Linked DNA regions of Homo sapiens: regions 1, 2 and 4 are each linked to region 3. The links are contacts of gene promoters, found by promoter capture Hi-C in human tissues and cell types (Jung and others, 2019). All regions are on one chromosome and are shown on one strand. Each heading gives the region's core, a stretch centred on a gene start or on the middle of the fragment in contact. The rest is flanking DNA. Distances are from core to core; before and after follow the strand shown. Region 1 holds the start of TOLLIP (toll interacting protein). Region 2 overlaps MUC5B (mucin 5B, oligomeric mucus/gel-forming). Region 3 holds the start of KRTAP5-5 (keratin associated protein 5-5). Region 4 overlaps LINC01150 (long intergenic non-protein coding RNA 1150).

Evidence for each region. Contacts are between HindIII fragments. The study calls those that stand out against the background at their distance.
Region 1: the fragment with the promoter of TOLLIP here is called in contact with the fragment with the promoter of KRTAP5-5 in region 3 in 2 of the 25 tissues and cell types used here (lymphoblastoid cells and mesenchymal stem cells).
Region 2: a contact is called between a fragment that was not itself captured here and the fragment with the promoter of KRTAP5-5 in region 3, in 1 of the 25 tissues and cell types used here (spleen).
Region 4: a fragment that was not itself captured here is called in contact with the fragment with the promoter of KRTAP5-5 in region 3 in 7 of the 25 tissues and cell types used here (adrenal gland, bladder, dorsolateral prefrontal cortex and 4 more).

What each region holds. Positions count from the first base shown.
Region 1 is chr11:1,308,308-1,311,007 of GRCh38, reverse strand. It overlaps TOLLIP (toll interacting protein), which reads left to right and starts at 1,376. Exons shown (of 6, transcript NM_019009.4): 1 at 1,376-1,542. The coding sequence starts at 1,510. TOLLIP-DT (TOLLIP divergent transcript) reads right to left here and starts at 1,300. Exons shown (of 1, transcript NR_029409.1): 1 at 301-1,300. RefSeq lists an enhancer at 219-980 and a silencer at 1,211-1,920. The HindIII fragment of the contact is 18,535 bases long and covers 1-2,700 here.
Region 2 is chr11:1,230,864-1,233,573 of GRCh38, reverse strand. MUC5B (mucin 5B, oligomeric mucus/gel-forming) reads right to left here. Exons shown (of 49, transcript NM_002458.3): 13 at 2,569-2,638; 14 at 2,014-2,151; 15 at 1,414-1,578; 16 at 1,030-1,124; 17 at 804-930; 18 at 306-561. Among named protein-coding and RNA genes, the nearest start is that of MUC5B, 9.2 kb to the right of the region's middle. The HindIII fragment of the contact is 5,029 bases long and covers 1-2,710 here.
Region 3 is chr11:1,628,367-1,631,066 of GRCh38, reverse strand. KRTAP5-5 (keratin associated protein 5-5) reads right to left here and starts at 1,292. Exons shown (of 1, transcript NM_001001480.3): 1 at 137-1,292. The coding sequence starts at 1,226. The coding sequence ends at 513. The HindIII fragment of the contact is 7,029 bases long and covers 1-2,700 here.
Region 4 is chr11:1,899,382-1,902,098 of GRCh38, reverse strand. The region is part of intron 1 of LINC01150 (long intergenic non-protein coding RNA 1150); the gene reads right to left. It also overlaps a transcript of PRR33 not described here. Among named protein-coding and RNA genes, the nearest start is that of LINC01150, 4.0 kb to the right of the region's middle. The HindIII fragment of the contact is 4,546 bases long and covers 1-2,717 here.

The sequences.
Region 1 (2,700 bases), core at 127-2,626, 320 kb after region 3:
GTTTTAAAAGGAGAGACTGGTAACCGAGACCCAAAGATGTGGTCTTTGGGATAAGAGGAAAGTGAGAGCACATGGTGTCCTGGATGGGGAGTGAAGAAAGCATGTGTAGCAAGAATGACTATCGATTTTGCTGTAGTTCCCGGAGGACGAGGACTGAGAACTGACCACTAACAATATAGAGATCACTGACAAAGAGTTTTTAGTGGAGTGGTTGTGTTACCGGAAAAGGGTCCTGATCCAGACCCCAAAAGAGGATTCGTGGATCTTGTGGAAGAAAGAATTCCAGGCCAGTCCACAGAGTAAAGTGAAAGCAAGTTTATTAAGGCAGTGAAGGAATAAAAGAATGGCTACTCCATAGAGCAGGGTGTTCCCAAAAGCACGAGGAGGAAGGCGTCCACCTGGGTACGCTTGTTTATATGTAAGATAAAAGCCAAAAAACATCACGGGGGAGACGTGCTGTACTACCTGGGCTCGTCAAAGGATTGCCAATCTTTGCATAACGCCTGTCCTCCGCAAGCATCTGTATCATTATCTTTAAAGCGAAACTTCAACTAAGAATGCTTCTTGTTCTTAAGATACCCGGACATCGGGACCTAAGTTCCGGGTCTGCTGCGTAAAAGTTTATTAACCTGTTCCCGTGACCGTAAACGCCCGACTCCTGGGGATGCAGCCAGCGGGGTTCAGCCTCAGTTTACCCAGCGCTGTTCGAGCTGGAGTCGCTCTGGTTGGAGCGCCTGACCGCGAGGGCCGAGGTCAGGCCGGACTGGGGTTCTCCGGAGCGAGCAGGAGAGGAGCGGGGCTCCTGCGGAGCGGCGCGGCGGGGAGGCCGAGGGCAGGGCGGGCTCGAGCTCGGGCTCTTCTGGCAGCGCCTCCATCCCCGTTCCGTTCACCCGGCAGCCGCCCCGTGGAGGAACCGCGCCCCATCTTTAGCCCTGTGAAACAGAAAGGCCCTTCCTCCGGCAGGCAGCTGAGGGAAAGATCGCCCTGCAGGGGATGTCGGGCCTGTCACTGCTTTGTTGCGGGCCACAGTTCCCTCCCTTCTCCGAGCGGGTCGCACGTCCGAAGGTCACCCCCGCCAGGTGGCTAGGCCCTGTCGCCACTCGACAGAGGACCGAGGAGGAACCAACCCACTGCCCAGACTGCAGCGCCGCCACGCTAGGGCCCGCGCCGACAACCGTCATGACTGGGCATGCGCAAACGGCCCCGCCGGGAGCCATTTCGCCGGGCTGCAGGGCTCGAGGAGAGAGCAGGTGCGCAGGCGCCGGGCGAGAGGCTGCGCCTGCCCTACCCTGGAGCGCGCGTGCGCGCGAGAGCCGGAAGGGGCGGTGCCTGGCGCGGCGCCTGCGCAGTGGGGCGGTGCCGGGGGCGGGGCGCGGCGGCTGTCAGCTGACTGTGGCGGCGGCGGCCTCGAGGTGACAACTGTCTCCGTCGCAGGCTCCGGCGGGGGCGCAGGAGGTCGCCCGGCGCGTCACTGTCGGGTCGGCGAGCCACGGGGGCCGCCGCAGCACCATGGCGACCACCGTCAGCACTCAGCGCGGGCCGGTGAGGCAGCCGGGCGAGGGTCGGGCGGGGGCGGTGACCTGCGGTTGCGGGCGGGGCCTTGGGTCAGGGCTACTGCTCAGCTGCGGCTGGCGGGCCGACTCCGCGGCTCTCCCGGGGCACGCGGGGCGCCTGGCCGGCCGGAGGGGAGCGGCGGCGTCCACACCTCGGGGCGGGGCGGGCCGGACGGACGCGCCCACGCTGCAGGAGGCTTGAGCTCACCGCCGTGCCGGGGCAGAGCTTTGGGGAGGCAGCCCCGGGGGAGGGGGCCTGCGCCCGTTGTGAGCCCCAGATGGAGGCGGGCCCCGTGCCCCATGGTGCCCCAGAGGGAGGCAGGCCCCGCTCCCCAATGGTCTCCAGATGGAGGAGGGCCCGGTGCCCAGATGGAGGCGGCCCCGAGCTCTGACTCCCGAATGGAGGAGGGCCCCGCACCCTAATGGTCCCCCAGGTGGAGGCGGGCCCTGAACCCTAATGGTCCCCTAGATGGATGCGGGCCCTGCTCCCTGATGGCCCCCCAGGTGGAGGCGGGTCCCGCACCCTGATGGCACCCTAGATGGAGGCGGGCCCCGCACCCTGATGGCCCCCCCAGGTGGAGGCGGGTCCCGCACCCTGATGGCCCCCCAGGTGGAGGCGGGCCTGCACTCTAGTTGGTCCCATAGATGATGGCTGTTTCCTCTTTCTCATTTACACAGAGTGAGGGCAGTGGTGACCACTTCTTGGGCCCAATTGTGTCCCCGGTTAGTGGCCACCGTGCAAAACCTCAGTTTCTTCATTTGCAAATGAGAGGATAGGCGCCAGGAACTTCAGAGAACCTTTCCTGCTCTGAATTCTCTCCTGAGAGTTGCCTGGCAGTTTCTTCTATAGCATTAATATTGCAGGAGAGCTGGTGTAGACTGACTCAGAGATGATGGGCTCCTGGCGTGAGTGGCCTCCTGGCTCACTGTTAGGGCCTTCTTGCATTGCTGTAAAGGAATACCGAGACTGGGTAATTTGTAAGAAAAGAGATTTAATTGGCTCCCGGTTCTGCAGGCTGTACAGGTAGCATGGTGCCGGCATCTGCTCCTGGGGAGGCCTCTGGAAGCTCCCAGTCATGGCGGAAGGCCAAGTGGGAGCTTACACGTCACATGGCGAAAGCAGCAAGAGAGTTGGGGGTGGGGAGGT
Region 2 (2,710 bases), core at 56-2,555, 400 kb after region 3:
GGGTTAGGAGCGGCCTTTGAGCCCAGGGTGGGAGTGGGGGCCACCCACCTTTCCTGGCAGGGGCTGCCATGTGGACCCAGCTGAGAACAGCCAGCAGGTGTCCTCCCAGGGCCACCTCCTCTCCTGGCCTCTTTCCCAGCTGGGAATTTTCTCTTCAGAATGTGCTGGGTCCACCCTGCCCCACTCTCCCCAGCCTGGCCCCTCATGTCTCAGAACCCTCGGGGGGAGGCACAGAAGCCTTCGGGGAGGGCGGGAAGTGGCTCTGAGGAGCACCTGGGGGGCCTGCTTTCCCCCCAGACCCTTACCACACGGCGCCCTCGTCGTGCACCACCTCTCCAGGAGCCAGCACGGTGCCGTGAGCGTAGCAGGGGCACTCCTGGGCGGGCACACAGGCGCCCGCGTCATTGAGGAAGGTGCCCGCGGGGCAGGTGCAGCCGTCCACAGGCACGAAGGAAACGCTGCAGGTGACGTCGGCCTCACTCAGGCCGCGGCAAGTGGGCTGGCAGGCATCCACCACGTAGGCGTAGCGCTGGGACTTGGGGCAGTTCTGCATGTACTTGGCTGTGGTCGGTGGGGCCAGGGGGGACAGGTCAGCGGCCGAGCAGCCTGGCCAGCCCCCATCTTCAACTCAGCATCCCCGTCTGTGACGTGGGGATCGCAAGGGCATGAGGTTCTTGCGAGGCTGGGATGAGGAAGTGCAAAGCTCTGGGCTGAGAACCGTGTGAGTGACGGCTGCTGCCGGCCAGGGTCCCCCGCACCCCCACGCGGTGTGGACACATCCCACCCCCAGCGTGGGCACTCACTGCAGACGCCGTCCCTCCAGTCGCTGAGCTGTACGCCCTTGGCGGCACAGGCGTGCACATAGGAGGACAGCGCGGCGCACAGGCAGTCCTCGCTCCGCTCACAGTTGCAGGTGTCAAACATGCAGTTCTGCGGAGGTGGGAGGCATCGGGGCGTCAGGGACCCCAGCCTGCCAGGGCTCCCCCACCCATCCTGCCCAGGCGTGGGGGTCTGGCCTCAGCCTCTCACCGAGTGGAAGGGCTTGGGGTTGATGATGGAGTGGCAGCGCGAGAAGGCACTGTTGGGATCGGTCAGGCGCGAGCACCAGTGCCGGGCGTAGTTCTCTGTGGGGAAGACCTGACCTCATCTCCACGCCCTGCCCCGAAGCCCACACCCCTGACACGCAGGCCTGCGACCCCCTCAGCCCGGGGAACAGTGAGTTGGAATTTGCGGCTCACCTGCTGCGCCTTGGGGGGTTCTGGCCGCCTGGCCCCAAGCACCTCCTCCTGATGCCTCCCACCTGCCTCCATGGGGTCCCCAATCCCACCCAGGGGTCCCCGTGGCCCAGGGGACAGGAAGGTGCTGGGTGGGACTTGAGCCTGGGGTGACTGTGGGGGTGGGGGCGAGGAGTACCATTCTCCACACTGAGGGAGCAGGGGTCCTCAAAGCTGTTCCTGGCATTGGCACAGGCAGCCTGGGCCTTCCAGGTGTTGGCGAAGGCTGCGCCCGTGGCCTCCACCACCCCGCTGAGGGCCGTGAAGTCGTCAGCCTGGTTCTGGTTGAAGTTCCCACACAGGCCTGGGGGCCAGGGTTGGGGGATGTCAGCGGCCACTGTTGGGCCCACCTGGCTCCTGGCCCCTGCCATCCCTCCAGGCACCACACAGGGTGGAACGGCTGGGAGCCCTGTCCCAGGATTCTGCTCCCAGAACCCTCTGCAGATAAGCCCTGGCGGGGGGCGCCCCTGTGCAGTCGGCCCCTGTGCAAAGCCAGCCCCTGTGCAAAGTCGGCCTGAGCCAGGGCAGGGCTGCCCGCTCCATCCTCCCAGCTGGCTGCTTCCGGGGCCGCTGGTCCAATGCTGGTGTCCTGCGCTGGCACCAGGATCTCCGCCATGCCCTGGGGGCAGCCCCCTCCCCGGTCCCCTGCCCGCCTCTGCCTGCCCCTCCCTGCAGCCTGGCGCTAGTCCAGGCCCCGTCCCCAATGGCCCTGTCCCCGAAGGCCCCTGCCCAGCCTCACCGCACATCTGGCCCTGGTGGGCGGGGTCCAGCCTGACAAACACCTGCATGAGTGGCACCAGCTGCACCAGCAGCTGCAGCCCCAGGCCTGTCTGCACCACGATGAAGAAGCTCGAGGGTGTGAACAGGGTGATGTTGGCTGCCGGGAGTGTGGGGGAGAGGCCGGTCAGGGGTGCAGGGACAGATCTGGCTAGATTGGAGGGGCAGGGCATCCAGTGGGCCGGGCCACCCCACTGAGACCCGGGAGTGAGACCCAGGAGTGGCCAGGAGCCCTCAGGCTCCCTGTCCCATGCCTGTGGCCGCCAAGTGGGCTCAGGTGGAGACCGGGCTCCCTGAGAGAGTGGGGCTGAGCGAGCTGGATGTGGGGTCCCTGCCGCTGCCGGGGTGGGAGCCTGGCATCCCCACTCTGCAGACGAGAAACCGAGCACAGGGAGCTCCTGGAGCTGCCCGAGGCCACGGAGAACTAGCAGGGATGGAGCGGACGCTGCCCAGGCTGTGGGAGCTGCCCCTGCAAGCAGGCGCCACCCAGCCCGGCCGTCCTGGGAGAGCCACATACCTGCCGACAGGGGCAGCTGCGTGTAGATGGAGTTGAGGAACACGCCGCCGTCCGCTTGGACCCGGATGGCCTGCGGAAGGAGGCGGGCGGGAGGTCAGCTCTGGGGAGGAACCCATTCCCGACTCTCAAATGAGGGGGTGGC
Region 3 (2,700 bases), core at 43-2,542:
TGCATGAAGACATGGACCATGACATGAAAGATGCTGAGGGGAGAGAAATGGGAACAGGCCCAGGGGTGGAGGCAAGAAGATGGTGCTTCTGGGAATGAGAGAGAGGTGGGAAGGAGAGAACCACAAGACAGTGAGCTTTGTGCTTAGAGACTTTGTTTATTTAGAGGGTCAGGATTCAGTCTTGATATACAGACAGCCAGAGAGATTGAGGGTCGATCACACTCCTGAAAGAAGGAGCAGCTGTCAGGGTCTAAGGGGTCTGATCTGCCTCTGGGGCCTCAGTGGGCCGCTTTGGATCTTAAATGAGTGAGGAGCAGGGAGAGGAAGTTCAGGAGAAGTAGTAGGCAATGAGCCAGAAGGGGTCCTCAGTCAGTTTCGGGAGCACTGGTGTGGAGTGGATGAAGCCAGTGAGGACACAGTGGAGACAGTGGAGCACCAGAGAACCCAGGGCAAGGAAGCTGGGCAGCCGGGCCCTTCACCAGTCAGGCCACCTGCAGTCTGCAGTCAGAGCCTCAGATCTTACACTGGCAGCACACGGGGACACAGCAGCTGGACTGGCAGCAGCAGGGCTTGTAGCAGCTGGATTGGCAGCAGGATGATCCACAGCCTGAGAAGCAGCTACAGGGCTTACAGCAGCTGGACTGGCAGCAGTAGGGCTTACAGCAGCTGGACTGGCAGCAGTAAGGCTTACAGCAGCTGGACTGGCAGCAGGATGACCCACAGCCTGAGGAGCAGCAGCAGGGCTTGCAGCAGCTGGACTGGGAGCAGCCATAAGAACCACAGCCCCCCTTGGACCCCCCACAGGAGCCACAGCCCCCCTTGGACCCCCCACAGGAGCCACAGCCCCCCTTGGACCCCCCACAGGAGCCACAGCCCCCCTTGGACCCCCCACAGGAGCCACAGGCCCCCTTGGACACCCCACAGGAGACACAGCCTCTCTTGGAGCCCCCGCAAGAGCCACAGCCCCCTTTGCCACAGCTGGAGCAGGAACAAGCTGGCACACAGCAGCACATGGGCTTGCAGCAGCAGACAGGCACACAGCAGCCGGAGCCACATCCCCCACAGCCCGCACAGCCGGAGCCACAGCCCCCACAGCCTCCACAGCCGGAGCCACAGCCCCCACAGCCAGAGCCACAGCCTCCACAGCCGGAGCCACAGCCCCCACAGCCGGAGCCACGGCCTCCACAGCCGGAGCCACAGCCTCCGGAGCAGCCACAGCAGCCCATGGTTCTGGTGGATTGAGGGTGGAGCAGGTAGAGGAGCAGGTGAGAGGGAGGTGCAGGTGTGGAGCCCCCTGAGCCCGGGCTCTTTATATCCCTGTCCAGGGTCAGGTGAGAGGCTGGGCACACTGTCACTTCCTGGTTCCTGCTTGTGCCACTGGTCCCAGTATTCTCTTCTGCTTTACATTTTTATAAATAACTCCTGTTTTCCTCGCACTTTTCTCGAATGTGCTGTCAGGTCTGTGATGGAAGCGGCCCCTCAGTAAACACTGGCCCCGCGGTGAGTTTCCCTTTCCATGTGACAAGAAGGAAGCGATGGGCAGGCAGTGGCTCGCTCAGAGGCCTTGGTCTTGCCGAGGGTGATTTTGAGCCCAGGACTCCTGGCTTGCTCCCGGGAAGATTCCTCTGCGGGAGCATCGTGTCTTGCTTGGGACGTGCCTAGGCCCTACACCTTCACGGTCCACAGCAGCTCCTGGCCCGCGGGCTGTTTCCAAGGGTCCCAGGACCTGGGGCTTCAGCCCTCAGCTCAGCAGGGTCGTTTTCGGTGTAAGACTTTGTTGGAAGGTTTGCAGTGTTGACTGAGACGGGGATTTTAAGCGCTTATTCTGGAGCTTGCTGCGTGCTCCCCATGGAAAGTGTTCTCCTGTGATAACCGCGGTCTCTTCCAGGGCTTTCAGACCACTCGGGTGGCAGGGCTGACAGATACAGTACAGGATGCCTGCTGGAACTTGAATTTCAGATCATCGAAGGCTGCCTTTTGAGGAAGGAAATCCAAGCATTGCAAGGGGCAGACACTGCCTCTGCGCTGGGTCAGGACCCAGATCGCATTGTCTCCTGCAGCGGTTCCTCCTGCCGCCGCACGGTGTCGCTGTGAAGCGGGTTCCCCCACTGCGTGGCCGGCCCAGGGGCTCCCGGACAGCGGCACAGGCTGATGGCAGAGGCCCTTTCAGGGCCAGTGAGCGGAAGAGGATGCCCTGTCTGGGTGCCCGCCTGCTCCGGGTCCCGGGCTCAGCCTGGGAAGCAGCAACTACATTCGGGTGCAGGCCCACTGGATGCTAAAGAAAGCCGGTGGAGAGCAGGGAACCGGATGGCCATTTGCCCCCGTGACCACAATACCTGTGAGTGCCCCGAGCCCAGTCAACAGGCCTCAGGCCACGGTGTAAACACCAGCTGGCACTCGGTGACTCTTGCCGTGTATGCTGGAGCCCCACTCTGTTCTGGGGCAGGGGACTGTATCTCAGGGAGGAACAGAAAACCCATTAGGAGAGAGCCGCCTTGTGTTGGCTGTCCCCACCAGAGGCGGCATCCTCCAGCTCTGGAACAGAGGCAACAGATACATTTGCTTCCTGATACATTCGCATCCAGCGCCTGATACATTCGCATCCAGCGCCTGATACGTTCGCATCCAGCGCCTGATACATTCGCATCCAGCGCCTGATACATTCGCATCCAGCGCCTGATACATTCGCATCCAGTGCCT
Region 4 (2,717 bases), core at 105-2,604, 270 kb before region 3:
CACCACGCCCGGCTAACTTTTTGTATTTTTAGTAGAGACGGGATCTCACCATGTTAGCCAGGATGGTCTCGATCTCCTGACCTCATGATCCACCCGCCTCGGCCTCCCAAAGTGCTGGGATTACAGGCGTGAGCCACCGCGCCCGGCCATAATTGTGGTTTTTGCAATTACTTTTCAACCAGCCTAATAACTAAAATGCACCTTTCTGACATTCAACGGCTACCTTGAAACCATTTTGTGAAAGAAATTTACATCTCCACAAGACATTTCCATTTGCAACGTCTGGGAGGGACATCCCTTTGTTTTAAATTTACGTAACAAGTCTTACCTTTGTTTAACGTGTTTTTCCTGGCCATGTTGTCTTCACTGGGCCTTGCTTTTTTCTTGGTTGAGCAAATGATGATGGTACAGTATTTAAGCTGAAAGTCTCAGCTTAAATAGCTTTTCATATATACATTTTCTGCCTTGTTTCACCTAAGAGTTATCTTTTTTGAAGGCAAATTGTTCCCTAGCTAACGATTGCTTAGGATGATAAAACAAGTAATTAGAAGATTGATAGTCTAAAGGGGGAAAAGAAAACTATTTGAAAGCTGGCAAATGAAAATTCTTTCTGAAATCTGTAAGATCTGTTTCTATCTGTGTCTGTTATGACTATATGTCTCTCTGTATGACATGTATCTGATAATATTTAGGAAAAAGCTGAAACCACCTTTGCATTGTCTCTTTGACTGAGACGGTGAGAGACATCTAACTTAATTGACTCCATCTTGCCTTTTTTTTTTTTTAGAGGTGGTGTTTTGCTCTTGTCGCCCAGGCTGGAGTGCAATGGCGTAAACTTGGCTCACCACAACCTCTGCCTCCTGGGTTCAAGCGATTCTCCTGCCTCAGCCTCCCAAGTAACTGGGATTACAGGCATCTGCCACAACGCCCGACTAATTTTGTATTTTTTTTAGTAGAGATGAGGTTTCACCATATTGGCCAGGCTGGTCTGGAACTCCTGACCTTGTGATCTGCTCACCTCGGCCTCCCAAAGTGATGGGGTTACAGGCGTAAGCCACCGTGCCTGGCCCTTCCATCTTGCTTCTAACCTCCTTGCTTATTCCTGTCCTTGCTTATTCCTGGGAGTAGGCTGAACTAACTTTGGGAGAAACTTAGTTTATAGTTTAAAACAAAGACGATAACAGCCTTTCCCAGTGGAGAGAGCTACTAAGGGCCCCTATAGTATCCAAAAAAGAGAGAGACAGAAGTATTTGATAAATTAAATTACATGGGAAGCACTGCCAAATAAGAAATGATGTTTAACCTTATTTGAGATATTGTTTGTGAATACGTCATTAATATATGCTCCAAAATTGTATGGGGTTCCTAAAATTCTGATACATCCGGGTATATGCTGTCACTCTTAATTACAGTTAAGTTATTGTAGGCCACAGAAGTAATCAAAATTCCTTGTCAGTTCTTCTTTAACCATGACCATTTTACGTCATTTCCAGAGTTAATTGCTTTTTTCTGACGTTTCTGAAAACTCACAAACACACACAGTCCTACAATATTGAGTCCTCCAGGAGGTTCGTGAAAGGAGAGAAAGGACCCTGATAAGCCCTCTTGAATAGGCTTCTGATAACTTTAGTGTAATGTCATTTGGACTGGGTAAAAATTCCCGGAACTCTAATGGAAAGATTGACTGGTTTATAAAATTGCTAACCTGGGCAGGACAAAAATTAATTGAATACCAAGAAAACACTTTGCCAGCTTTTCATGCTAAATCAGCCAGTACTGATATTGTTTAGATACCCAATTTGAATTAAATCCATCGTCCAAGTCAAATTACCTATGATAACCCTTCTAATAAACAGTGCTATGCACCTGAACTGGAGAAACAAAATTGGTATTTAAGAAGATATAAGTCCAGCATCAAGCATGGACACATGGACAGCCAAGATGGCCACCTGGTCCTTCCTGTGTCCTTGAAGCTTCCACTATTAAATGCTCTGCACTCCATGATTCATCATGGAAGAGACAAATTAATCCAAATTTTATATATATATGTATATATAATATACATATATATATTTGACATGGTGACCGTTGTAAGTTGTTAAAATGGTTTACGACCAATGTTTGGTCTGCCAAACCCATAATCCTGGGAGGACAATCGAAACTTCCATTACACTTCTGCTACTTGATGGGCCATTGAAACATTGCTGGAGGGATTTCCTTCAATTGTCATTTTCAATGCGTGTTTTCTGGTTATATAGAAGCTTTCCCAGGCAAGAGCACTGATGTTATAGCAGTAGCTAAAAGATTATTAGAAAATTGTTTTTCTCATGGGACGTCCCTTGAGAAATCTCCCATGATAGATGTACTTGTTTCACTGCTCAAGTGGTAAAACTGTTAATAACTTGTTACAGATACAATAATATTAAGCAAGGGAAATGAATGAACTGGGCTGCCTTGGTCAAGGGTGTTGCAGGTGGATGGCCGTCGGGTCCATTTCCAGTGGAAAACATAAGTTGGTGCCTTATGAAATAGTCCCTGGAAGTCCTATATAGAACCTCATGTATCTTCCACTCCTCAACTCCGATATGGCTAAAGGCTCCTAGGCCTTAATGCATTATGCCTAAGTATATTTTCACCAGGTACAGAAAGCTTTTCATGGTCCACTGAGGACCCTATCAAACGCTTCACAATCTAGAACCCAGACATTTGGTTTTCTG